Regions from separate parts of the Homo sapiens genome. Here region 1 is linked to region 2. The links are contacts of gene promoters, found by promoter capture Hi-C in blood cells and fetal thymus (Javierre and others, 2016). All regions are on one chromosome and are shown on one strand. Each heading gives the region's core, a stretch centred on a gene start or on the middle of the fragment in contact. The rest is flanking DNA. Distances are from core to core; before and after follow the strand shown. Region 1 has its middle 69 kb from the start of PRSS1. Region 2 holds the start of EPHB6 (EPH receptor B6).

Region 1 (6,577 bases), core at 2,155-4,654, 170 kb after region 2:
AAGAAAGAGGGCTTCACAGAGGTGGTTTTAGGTAAGATATTTTAGGAAAGTATGTGATGATATTGAGCCCACTCAGCTAATCAAGGAAAACCTCCCCATTTCAAGATCCTTAACTTAATCACATCTGCAAAATCCTTTCAGCAATGTGAGAGAACATATTCAAGATTTTCAAGGATTCAGATCTGAATATTTTGGGAGATTATTATTCAGTCTACCACAATGTGAAAATCTCTAAATAACTGCAGCAATACTTCTGAGAGAGAAATGTTTAGATGACTGAGATCATATCTTAGCTAGGGAAGCAAGAACTGATAAAACCCTGGTTTGTTCAATAAATATTTAAAGAGCAACTACTTTATTCAAAGCCTGTAATACTGTTGAAGATACAAAAATTAAAACCTTGGACATGGTCCTTGGCCTCATTGAGCATATTTTGTATTAATAATTTTAAAAACTATCATAATAAGTTAAACAATGAAATGTGTGATACTCTATGATTGTAGAAGCTCTGGGTACCATGGGGTATTTACCACGCATAGTCAGAGACTCAGCCATGATGATTATGCCATTTAAACATGAAGGATTAGGAGTACAGATAAATAGGGAGAGAAAGATTATTCTAGCTAGTGTGAACAGCATGTGTAAAGGCTCAGGAGTGAGTGAGAAAGTACATATGGAGCTTTGGGAGAGCTGAGGGATTATGAATATTATTAGAGCATAAGTATGCAAAAAGTGGGTAAAGAGTAGGTGAATTTCACAAGACTGGATAGGTATGCAAGGGCCAAATTATGGAGGGTTTTAAGAATTTGTAGTTTGGAAGTTTTTTTTTTTTTTTTTACGAAAAAACTTATAGGCTAACATTTAGATATAAAGAAGACTGGTCATAACCCTAAAGTCAATGGAAAGGAAGTGTTTTCAGCTGCAGAGAATGAACTGAGTTAGAAAAGAGAGTAAGACATCAGGTAGGTGGATATTTGGTAGGAGTTGAAGTAATTCAGGTCAAAGAAGTAATTCAGATCGAAGACAGTGGTTGCCTGAGCTAAGGCAGTATTCGTTGGGATAGAAAATAGTGGTTGAATTTGAGAGGTTTTAATAAACAGAAATGTTAAAGATGTGTTTATGGACCAATGTGGAAGAAGAATGTGACAGAAGAGGTGAAGATATTCTGGGGACTCTAGCTAAAGCAATTGAGTGAATGCTTGTACCACTTAGGGATCCCAGTGACACAGAAGATGCATGTCACAACATACCTTAGGGTGGGTTATTGTCTCAAGAAGCTAGAGAGCCAGGACTGGGACAAGGATGAGGAAAGGCATTGCAATGAATGTGTTTGGGACCTGAAGAGGGGATATCTTGTCTGAGGAGCAATAAACCTGAAAGGGCAGAGTAAGGATCTTAATACATATAATTTAATCTCAGAAATAGAAAATGAGACTATTTGAACTGGCCATAGACTTAGGAACATTTTCTCGACTTCTGTACTCACTAGTAGAGCACAAGGAGGTATAGGAAATATTGCCTTTTGAAGTCTGATGCAAGGTTGCTGCTCAGGTCAGACTTCCTACCCAAAAAAAAAAATCTCATGTAAAAGGTTCTGGAAAGTTCTATTCTCTCCTCCTCTGAAAGAAGTTCTTTCTCAGAATAGGGTGGAGCCTCTTGTGGGTGGGCACTCCTCCCTTTGAGACTGCCATTTTGTGAGGTGAGCACATGCCTGTGCAGTGCTGTGGAGTGACGGTACAAGGACACAGGGACATCTGAAAGGGAGTTGCAGATTTCAGAGCCAAAGAGAACTTCTATTTTTTGCCAGGAAATATTTTCAATAGGGATATGTCTCTAATCAACAATGTCAATGTTAACTGAATAATGAGTCGGCTCTAATTCCAACCCTGATTCTTGTGAAAACCAGTATGAAATCTTGGCACTTATCTTGAGAACTCCTTTCCTGTCTCTGCAATCAGGTGTCTTAGAGTCTAGGTGGCTTCAGCTTCTACGAGCTGGGGTTTATGAGCTGAGGGGACAGAAGACAGAAAGAGAGCCAAGGAGAGAGCCTGGTGCTGCAGACTCCAGGAAGGAACCTGGGCTGTGGGCAGGCAAGCTCAGAATAAGAATTTCCCAAATGTTTCCAAGACTCACTGCCCCCAGGAAACAAAAGTACATGCAAGGGAGGAATAACCAGCTATGGTGGAATGAAGAGGTCAGCAAAGTTCCCCATAAAATAAGTATAAAACTCAAACAATTCTCATCAAAAGGCAGGAATTTTCTTTTTTCCTTAGGAGTAAAAGCTATTTGTTTCTGTACCAAGAGTAAGGCACACATGTTTTCATGGCTGTGGGCTATGAATAGTAATTTGAATTATATTTTATGCAAACACTTGTTTAATGCACATTTCAGTATAAGCCAAAATTACTATAATTTTGTTACTACAAAAATTTTTATATTATACTGCTATATAAGCTTAGTTGAAAGCTATCTCATTTCTTTATTATTTATTTAAAATTGACAAATAGAAATTATATATATTTATTGTATACAATGTGATATTGTGACATTTTAATATATGTATACATTGTGGAATAATTAAATCAAGCTAACATATGCATAATCTCACATACTTATTTTGTTTTGACTTTTTTTTGGTAGGAACATTTAAAATCTACATTCTTAGCAATTTTCAAGAGTACATATATTATTAACTATAGTAATCATGCTGCATATTAGGTCTCTAGAACTTCTTTCTGTCTGATTAAAACATGTACCTTTTGACCAACATTTCCCTATTTCCTATGCCTCCCTTCCTGAAACCCCATCCCAGTGCTTGGCAATTACCCTTCTACTCTCTGCTTCTGTGGGTTTGACTTTGTTGGATTCCATGAATAAGTGAGACCATGCATTATTTGTTTTTCTGTGCCTGAATTATTTCACTTAGCATAATGTCTCCAGGTCCAAACATGTTGTTGCAAATTATATGATTGCCTTTTTCTGTAGGGTTGAGTATTATTCCATTGTGTGTGTGTGTGTATGTGTGTATGTATACACATATACGTATAAATAATATATATATTTATATATACATATACAGAATTTATATCATATATTCTTCATCTAGTCATCCCTTGGTGGAAACCTAGGTTAATTCTGTATTTTGGCTATGTGAATAATGCTTCAAGGAACACAAGAGTACATATATTTATTCAACATACAGATTTCATATCCTTTGGATTTATATCTAGAACTGGAATTGCTAGATTATATGATAGTTCTATTTTTAATTTTCTGAGGAACCTCCATACTGTTTGTCAAAATGGCTGTACTAATTTACATTCTGTATTAGGTCAGGGTTCTCTAAAGGGGCAGAACTAATAGGATAGATGAAGAGGAGTTTATTAAAGGGTATTTACTCATACAAACACGAGGTAAAGTCCCATAATAGGTCTTCTGCCATCCGAGGAGCCAGGAAGCCAGTCTGAGTCCCAAAACATCAAAAGTAGGGAAGTTGAGAGTGTAGTCTTCAGTCTGTGGCCGAAGGCCCAAGAGCCCCTGGCAAATCACTAGTTTAAGTCCAAGAGTCTAAAAACTGAAGAACTTGGAATCCGATGTTTGAGAGCAGGAAGCATCCAGCATGGGAGAAAGATGAAAGCCAGAAGATTTAGACAGTCTAGTCCTTCCACATTCTTCTGTCTGCTTTTATTCTAGCCATGCTGGCAGCTGATTAGATTGTACCCACCCATATTGAGGGTGGTCTGCCTTTCCCAGTCCACTGATTCAAATGTTAATCTCCTTTGGCAACACCATCACAGACACACCCAGGAACAATACTTTGCATCCTTAATCCAACCAAGTTGACACTCAATATTAACCATCACACATTTCTGCCAACAATGTACATGATTCCCTTTTCTGCACATCCTTATCAATGCTTGTTATCTTTTGTCTTTGTAGTGTTAGCCAGTGTATCAGTTGTGAAGTGATATCTCATTGTGGCTTTAATTTATATTTCTCTGATAATTAGCAATGATAAACATTTATTCATTTGTATGCTTTCTCTTGAGAAATGTCTATTCAGGTCATTTGGCCATATGTTAATTGGGTTGTTTTCTTGCTAATGAGTGTGAATTTCTTATATATTTTGGATATTAATCCTTTTTCAGACATGTGGTTTGCAAATATTTTCTCCCATTTTGTAGCTTGCCTTTTTATTCTGTTGATTATTTCCTTTCCTTTCCTTTCCTTTCCTTTCCTGTGCAGAAACTTTTTAGTTTGATGTAATCCCACTTGTCTAATTTGGTTTTTGTTGCCTATGCTTTTGCAGTAATATCTAAAAATTGTTTACCAAGACCAGTATTAAGAAGCTTTTCCCCTATGTTTTCTAATAGTATTTTAAAAATTTCAGGTCTTATGCTTATGTCTTTAATTTATTTTGAGTTGATTTTATGTTGTAAAATAGAAAGACCAAAATCCAACTATTTTCTGACTATGGGAAATCACTTTAGTTTTAAAGACACAAATATATTGAAAGTAAAGTATGGAAAAGCATATGTCATATTAGTAACCATAAAAGCTTGAGTGGCTATATTAATATCAGAGAAATAAATTTTAAAGCAAAAAATATTATTACAGAAAAACACTTCATAATGATTAAAGTTTCAACCTATATATGTATATCAAATGATATAAAAAATATACAAAATATATATTCCTTCTATGTGTGTTTGTGCATATGTATTTTTTATATTTATTCACACATATATTTATCCTTTAAGGTGCTTTTAATTTCTTACTATGGATTTTAGTTGCTAACAATGTCATTTTCTCTCAGCTGGATGACTTCCTTTAATATTTCTTGTAAGACAGGTCTGCTAACCACACAATTCTGTAGCCTTTGTTTATCTGGGAATGTCTTTATTTCATTTTCATTTACAGAGGATAGTTTTGCTGGATATAGAATTTTTGGTGGAATTTTTTTCTTTCAGTGCCTCTCCATTATCTTCTGATCTCCATTGTTTCTGATTTAAAGTCAGAAACAATGACTTCTGATTTAAAGTCAGATTAATTGTATTGCTCTTCTCTTTCAAATGATGAGTCATTTTTCTCTTGTTGAAAAAATATATTGATTTCAATACATTATTTGTGGATTTTGGCTTTCTGAAGTTTAACTATAATGTAGCTAGACATAGATATCTTTGTGTTTACTGTGTTTGAGAGATGTTAAGCTTCTAGATTCTTTCGATTAATGTTTTTCAACAAATTTGAGAAGTTTGTGGCCATTATTTTTTCTTTGTCTTTCTCTCACTTCTCTCTTTCTAAGACTCCAATTTTACATATATGGGTATGCTTGATGGTACTCACAAATCTCTAAGTTTAGTTACTTTTAGTATAGAAAGCATTTGCCTGTACAGCATTGTGGAGTAACTCCTGGGGCCTAACAACAGAGTCCCAAAGTACATAAAGTAAAAATGACAGAAATGAAACAAAAATAAACATACCAAAATTATAGTTGGTGACTTAAATCCTCCAGTCTGAAAAATTGACCACACCAACTAGACAGAAAGTAAATAAGGGTAAAAAGACCTGAAAAACACTACTAAACTATTTGACTTAATTGATGATTTTAGAACACACTATTCAGCAACAGCAGAATGTACACTTTTTCAAGTGCTCATAGAGTATTTCCCCATATAGATTATATGTTATATAATAACATACAGATAGGAGGATTAAAATAATTCAAAGTATATTCTCTCATCACAGAGGGATTTAATTAGAAATAAACAACAGAAAGAAGCTGGAAAAATCACAAATATTTGGAAATTAAACATCACACTCCTAAATAACTCATGGGCTTCAAAAGGAATTTCTAGAAAAATTATGCTTTTAACTAAAAAACTAAAAATATATCAATGTACATGGAATGCAGCCATGATTAGAGGGAAATGTATAACTTTAAATAACTGCATTAGGAAAACAACTACAAAAGTTTCCATCATAATCTAAACTTCTACCTGAAGACACTGGAAAAATAAGAGAAAAGTCAACCAAAAGTAAACATAAGGAAGAAATAACAAAGATCAAATTAGGCCGGGCGCAGTGGCTTGTGCCTGTAATCCCAGCACTTTGGGAGGCTGAGGCAGGCGGATCACGAGGTCAGGAGATAGAGACCATCCTGGCTAACACGGTGAAACCCCGTCTCTACTAAAAAAGAAAAAATACAAAAAATTAGCTGGGCGTGGTGGCGGGTGCCTGTAGTCCCAGCTACTCAGGAGGCTGAGGCAAGAGAATGGCGTGAACCTGGGAGACGGAGCTTGCAGTGTGCCGAGATAGCACCACTGCACTCCAGCTTGGGCGAAAGAGTAAGACTCCATCTCAAAAAAAAAAAAAAAAAAAAAAAGATCAAATTAAAAATCAATTCAATAGATAATAGAAAAATAATAGAGAAAATCAATGGAACTACAACTGTTTACTTGAAATGCTATAAAATTGATAACACTTTAGTCAGACTGAACAAGATAAAAAGCAAGAAAATAGAAATTGCAAAGTCAGGAGTGAAAATGAAGAATACAATTACTAACCCTATAGAAAT
Region 2 (6,597 bases), core at 853-3,352:
CCCAGGCTGTGGAGCTGGGGGAGGCTTTTAAGATGCAGGCAGTGTCTAGGTCTAGCCAGACAGCCACTTAGAATGAGCCACTCTGTGCACTGACCGGGGACATGCGTGGCTCTGGAAAAGAGCATAAGGGAGGGTGTTAAGGCAGGAGGCAAATGTGCCTGAGAGATGAGTAAGTGGAAGGTTGTGGAAGAAAGCCCCTGAGTGCCAGGAGTAGCACCTGCGTCAGCAGTGCCTGAGGATGTGTGTCTACCTGGTGGAGTGTGTAAGGGAATGTGTATGAGATGAGGTGGGCGGGAGCAGATGCTGTCTGTGTAGATGGGGGCTGTTGCTTTCCTGTGGCAGAAGATGCACATCAGTGCTGGTTCCGGAGTGGTTCCATGGGCCCTTCTTCCTCACCTTCGGCCCCTGCTCTACCCCCAGTCTGGCTGTGAGTTGCTCTTGGCCCCAGGAGGTACTTCTGCAGAAACACCTGGGCTGGGAGAGGGAGCCAAGTGGGGGGCGGGGAGGAGTGGGTAAAGAAAGGGAAACCTGAGGCTTCCCAAACCCTCCAGAACCTGCCATCCTCCTTCTACCTAGAGTGGGAACTCAGGGTCTAGGGCCCAGGCTCAGGACAGAGTGATAGCAGAACAGCCGTCCCAGAAGGAGGATCCTGCCTTTCCCATGCTCAGCCCACCCCAGCCTGTTGCTCCCCAGCATTCTGGTAACTCAGTGTCATTGCCAACCATCTTTTTGCACCCTGAATGGAGTAATAGACTCCAAACAAGTCCTCCTTCTGAGGCCACCAGGTAAGTACATAGACACCCCCACGCTAATCTTCCTTTGAGAAAAAAGGCCCACTGCTCTGAAAAGCCAAGTGGCCCCACTGAGCAGCACTCAGAAGCCTCAATGCTCCAATGCCCCTTACTTGGGCAGCTTCTGTGGTCTACTAACAGCCCCACACAGCTCCCTCCCACTGGTCTCTCAGCTCAGGACCAGCATCTCCCCTCCTAGAGCCTCAGTCAAGTTCCCCTGGCGGGCGGAGGGCCTGGGTTAACTGGGAACAGACCCAGCAGCTCCGCTCCATGGGCGCTGCCAGGGACATTACAACATTGCTATGCTGGGTCCATGCCAGCTCCCCCAGGGATGGGAGGAGAGAGGGTGCCAGACGGCCAAGATCGGTGGGTGGGGGTGTGGGGCAAGCAGGGCCAAGCACCCAGATGGAGGGAGCAGAGCGAGGGTGGAGCTGGGGCAGGAGCACGCAATAGAATTTGGTTGCACGTTGGGGGTGATGGCTGGGCAGCAGGAACCAAGCGTTCCTTCCACCTCCAAGGCTTAACTGTGGTCATGGAGCTGGGGGGGACAGTGCCTTGTGGGGAGCAGGGGACAGGTGTGTGGTCAGCCTCCTGACTCCTCCCAGCTCCAAGGGGATTGGAGTGATGCCACTGGAGTCAGAGGGGTGGCAATCCTGTTCCAAGCGTGGAGCTCCGTCTCTGCGAGGACCCTCCCAGATTAGGACTCCCAAGCCAGAGCCAGAGGAGAATGTCTGGGAACGCAACTGGGGGATCCTAACAGCAAGGGTAATGCGGTGTCAATGATGCCAGGTCAGAGTGGAGTGAGAGGGGAGTAGCCAGGTTGACCGTTTCCTCACCCTTCATGAACCCCACTCTGGCCTTGAGGAAGGATCCTCAGTACTCCCTCAGGAAGCCACCTAGGGGCTGAGGAGCCCCACTACTCTTGCAAACCTTAATTCCTCTGTCCCCAAGCATACTGTCCCCGACCCCCACAACGCCGCCTGCTAACCCCGCGGGCTCACCTTCCCGTTGGCCGCAGTCTCTGCAGGTCTGCGCCCCCCGAGGCCTCGCAGTGGACCCGGGGCTCCTGGAGCTCGCACGGTGCCACCCGCGTCTTCTCCAGTCCGGGGACCCCGTTGCACCCGGCCCGGGTCCGTTCGGCGCCGAGAGTCCCTGGGATTCCGGGGTGGACCTGACGCTGGCGGCAGGGGCTGCTCCAGAGGTGGGGCGCCGGGAGATCCTGGGGGCCCGCGTCGAGATCGCCGTCGCCAAGCTGGGTCCCGGGTCCCGCCGCCCGCTGCTGTAGAGCCGCGGCTGGAGCGAACGCAGCCCGGCCCGCCCCCTCCGCGTCCCCTCCCAAGCCGGCCCGGCCCGCCCCTTCAGCCCCTTTGGCCGCCTTCCCACTCCCTTCTTCCGGGGAGCCGAGCCCGCCCTCCCGGCCTAGGCGGTGAGTGCGCGGCGCCCGCTCCTCCGCCCCGGCGCGCGGGGGAGACGCGGGGCGCGCCCGGGGCCCCGCCTGTGCGCCGGGAAGGGGGCGGCCTCCTCCCGCGGGTCTTGGCCGGGAGGATCGCACGCGTGGGGCGCCTGCAGGAAGTGGGAAGGGAAGAGGCTGTCTGTAAAGCCCCTGCCTGGGCTCGGGCTCGGGCTCGGCTTGGGTCGGACACCCGCGGAGCGAAGCGCAACTGGCGGACCGTGGCAGTTCAGGGCAGGGCAGAGCCCTGCACACACCCCCTCGCGCCTCCCTCCTCTTCGGCTTTAACTCTAGGAACTAAAACAGTGGGGCTCCTACTCAGCTTGGAACTAAGGTGGGCGTGAGCTGAGCAAGAGAGAAGGAAGGAAAAGCAGGGGGTGGAGGGAAAGACAAACTGAGAAATCTGGGAGAGTACGGGCGGTGGTAGGGGGAGCCGAGGCAGCGGGAGAGGGGGGCGTCTCGGTATGAAAGCGTCGCCGTGCTAGCCGGGAACTCTTTTCTCTTTTCGTGTCTGGATCTTGGTCAACGTTGGGGCTTCTGAGTCGAACCTCCCTCCATCTACCCTCCCCAAGGGGCAGGGCAGTCGGGTTGAAAAGGGGAAGCGCTGCTGTACGCCTGGCTCTGACATGGCTTGGGCAAGTCGCTGCACCTCTGGGTGCCTCCTCCCTCGCCCGCGCTCCGGAGAGAACCTCCCTGCAGTGAGGAGGGGCGGTGCAAGGTGCTCTCAGCTGGCGCCTGGAGGCAGGGTTGAGGAACCGAGGGGGCGCCGCGAGGAAAAGTGTTTCCGCCCACCTCTAACCCCTTCTCTAGCCGAGGACGGGGATTTGGGGTCTATTGTTTGGGTCCTACAGAGCTGGGCTGGGGCCTTGCCACGAAGTGTTGCTACCACCTGCTGGTTTTTCTAGGGAGCACAAGCACCCGGTGCGATTCCCTTTGCCCCCTTTTCTCCCTGTATCGCCCTGTCCCATCTTGCTCTCCTGTTTATTAAAGCAAATGGGCTGATCAAAACTGGTACTTAAAGAGCATTCAGAAGCCGAAGAAAATTGTGAAAGAGATCTATGAGCCAACAAACACAATAAACAAAACAATGAAACTCAGTAAGAGTCACCTGGGAGAGACAAACAGGCTTTAATGAATTGACTGAATGAGTGATAGAAAGATAAAGGCTACCGAGCAAGTTCCCACTTGGCCAGGGGTTTGTTCACTCTTAATATCAGGAGTCAATAAATAAGTCTGATAGTATTTAATGACTGCATTTGGACGTCATTAATAATTCCACTTGTACTGACGGTTCTACTTTATCTTGTTTCTTCCCTTTGCCCTGAAACTCAGTGGTGGAGGGCTTCCTTCATTTTCTGGTTATCTCCAAGGCTTTCAAAGACTTCTGCAAAGAAACAGAATTTGCATTGTGTGTGGAATTACGTAACTCATACATTAACATGCCTGATTGCTAGACATCTATGGTTATATTGAAAACTTAAAAAAAAGACACATAACTAGATTATGTTAAAATAAAAATATGGACAAAACCAAACCGTAGTTGTTACTTTATAAAACCCAGAAATTCCTGTAGTAATTTGCAACGTATCCTGTATTGACATAACAGTAAAAATATCTGCCTTCTTTTCTATTTCATGATATACCTCATATTAGGTGACTATAATATGAAATGAAGTTTTTGCTGCTCAAGGCTTGTGTAATTAGTTATATTTGTCTTGTTAATAAAATTTGAGAGGCATCTAGTTTTCAAAGGAAGTGTCATACTCAGGATGCAAAGAGGTTTAAATTTGTGATTAGTCGGCTTTGCATCCTAATTGCCTATGTCTTATCAAACCAAGTTTTAATGGTAGGTGGAGAGCATAGAATGCATTGTTAAAGTATGCTGCAACCTGCAGCTATTAAAAAGCAAAGTAATGAATTCCTTTTTAAAGTTTAATGTAAATTTTTTGCTATAATTTGTTTGGTGCCTGGGACACTCCAGGTGCTTAGAAGTGTTATAGAATGAATCAATAAAAAATAATATTTAAACTTTTTCTATGTGGATGGGCACAGTGGCTTATGCCTGTAATCCCAGCACTTTGGGAGGCTGAGGTGAGAGGATCACTTGAGGTCAGGAGTTTGAGATCAGCCTGGCCAACATGGTGAAACCTCATCTCTACCAAACAATACAAAAATTAGCCAGGCATGGTGATGCATGCCTATAGTCCCAGACACTCAGGAGGCCAAGGTGGGAGAATCGCTTGAACCCGGGAGGCGGAGGTTGCAGTGAGCCAAGATTGTCCTACTGCACTCCAGCCTGGGCGACAGAGTGAGACCCTGTTTCTTTCTATATATATATGTGTGTATATATATATATTTTTTTTTTTTGACTTGTTCAAAAAAAAAACCCTGGAGTATTGCTAATGGGCAGGACCTAATAAAGTTTATGGCTCACAGAATTAATCATTTCTGGCACACAACAATCTATTATGTAAATTTGGAACCAAAAGGAACTGCTGAGTAGAAAACTCCAGGTGAGATAGGAAGGCTCCTAGATTGGTTCTGCCTCATTTTTTCTGAGTTTTTGCCTCCTTCTTGGGCTTTGCTCACTCCCCTAGGATGTGCAATTTTCTTCTTCCTTATTTCCCCTTAGAACAGCTAATGTAAGCTGATGTTGTCATAAACAAAGAGCTTTACAAATAATTTCACTGATAAGAATTCTAGTAAAAAGCCATAAAGGAGTCTTCTGAGTCCCCTATCTCTTATTCCAAAACATTAGTTATAGCTCCCAATGCATGACCTCACAGGGCTCAGGCCCTTCACTGAACTGTCTTGAGGCTTTGTGGCCTCTAGGTGCAGTTGCACTTCCTAAAAGCTGGAGTCTAGTCTCCAAACACTTTACCAATGGAAGTGTTAAATGCCCATTTGTACAACTAAAGCTTTTATTGTTTTCTGTTCAGAAACTTCTAGAATGTTCAAAAATTCTCCTATGTTACTGGTTTGTTTGAAAGTCAAACCTAGATTGCAACTGATTTGTAGACCAAGGGTAATGGATACCCTTCATGGTGGTATTAAAGTTTACCCATCATAGTCCTACACTTTGATATTACTTTAACCATGCAATAATAACAAGGTATTCAGAGATATTAGTGCCTCCAAGAGAAAGAGGATGGCTTTTCTCTCAGTTAGGGGTTGACTTCAGCTATATGTAACAGCAAAGTTGTACAACAGTGGTTTAAACAAATTAGATAACACAGAAATACGATGAAGGTCCCAAGTCAACAAGACTCCAACTTTAGGATGAGGACTTGTTCTCAGATTGTCAACATTTTAGCCAGAGCTCCAGCTATGAGGTCTACAAATTTCAGGCAAGAAAAAGAAGGGAACAGGATTAAAACGCTACATCCAGCTGAATTAGCACTGTTCAAAGAACCTTTCTGGAAGATCCATTCAGTGACTTCATATGTATTATTGGCCAGGACAGTGTCACGTGACCACCCCTACCTGCTTGAAACCTGCAAAATACATGCTGCACAAAATGAAATTAAAGCTGTTAAACCTAAGAGAGGAAGAAAGAAAGCGTGTTAGCCAGGGGAACAGCAGCCTCTGCCACAAATGAAATAAAATGATCACGGTAATCTACATTTTTCCCTGCAATCAACAGAGATCTCTATCTCCTTTTTATAGGATATACTTGCTGGTACTTTCCCCCAGACCACTGTCTTTACATAGGTTTAATGCTCAAAGATGGTCCCCAGGAAGTTAGTGGAGTGAAGGGAAATGCTAGGAGTGTCCTCTTTCTAAAATAACCATGACATGATCTCAAAAGAAAAATAACAAATCCTTTGCAGTTACCCATACAAACAATAGGACTTGAAAACATTCTAGATTTTAATAAGATTTTGGGCAGGGCAGTCCTCATATGCAGAGCAGAAGTGATCAACACTCCACACCATTCTTTGCTCCTTTCCTGGTTTGTATCTTTTCCATTCAGGTGCATATAGGAGATGGGATGATCTATGATGTGGAGCAGATGGTCCCCTGGTCGGCTCTTCCAGTAGAATGCAGTCTATTTCTGGAGCTGCGCCTCCAGATAGTGCTCTCTGAAAACATTTGCATTTCCTAAACTGAAAGGGTGGCCTGCATTTCTATGAGATCTGCCTTCTACTTGTAGATGTGGCTGACACATTTCCTGGTTCCCATATTCTCTTGTCTTATAGTATACGTCTCTCTCTACATTCAAATGGATTCTGAGAATCTATCCCATCAGAACTTAAAGCACCACCGACAAAGTGGAGCTAGTCAACATGAAGAATGAGTAAACAGCAACGACAGCACTTGAGATCTTTTAACAATCTGAAGCAAAGTAGAAAAGGA

Evidence for each region. Contacts are between HindIII fragments. The CHiCAGO score rates a contact against its expected background, and 5 or more counts as called.
Region 1: a fragment that was not itself captured here is called in contact with the fragment with the promoter of EPHB6 in region 2 in 2 of 17 cell types (total B cells and naive B cells); the score reaches 6.2 in total B cells.

Annotation. Positions count from the first base shown.
Region 1 is chr7:142,677,019-142,683,595 of GRCh38, reverse strand. It overlaps TRB and the pseudogene TRBVA. Among named protein-coding and RNA genes, the nearest start is that of PRSS1, 69 kb to the left of the region's middle. The HindIII fragment of the contact is 1,895 bases long and covers 2,457-4,351 here.
Region 2 is chr7:142,850,581-142,857,177 of GRCh38, reverse strand. EPHB6 (EPH receptor B6) reads right to left here and starts at 2,102. Exons shown (of 20, transcript NM_004445.6): 1 at 1,793-2,102. The HindIII fragment of the contact is 5,828 bases long and covers 1-5,161 here.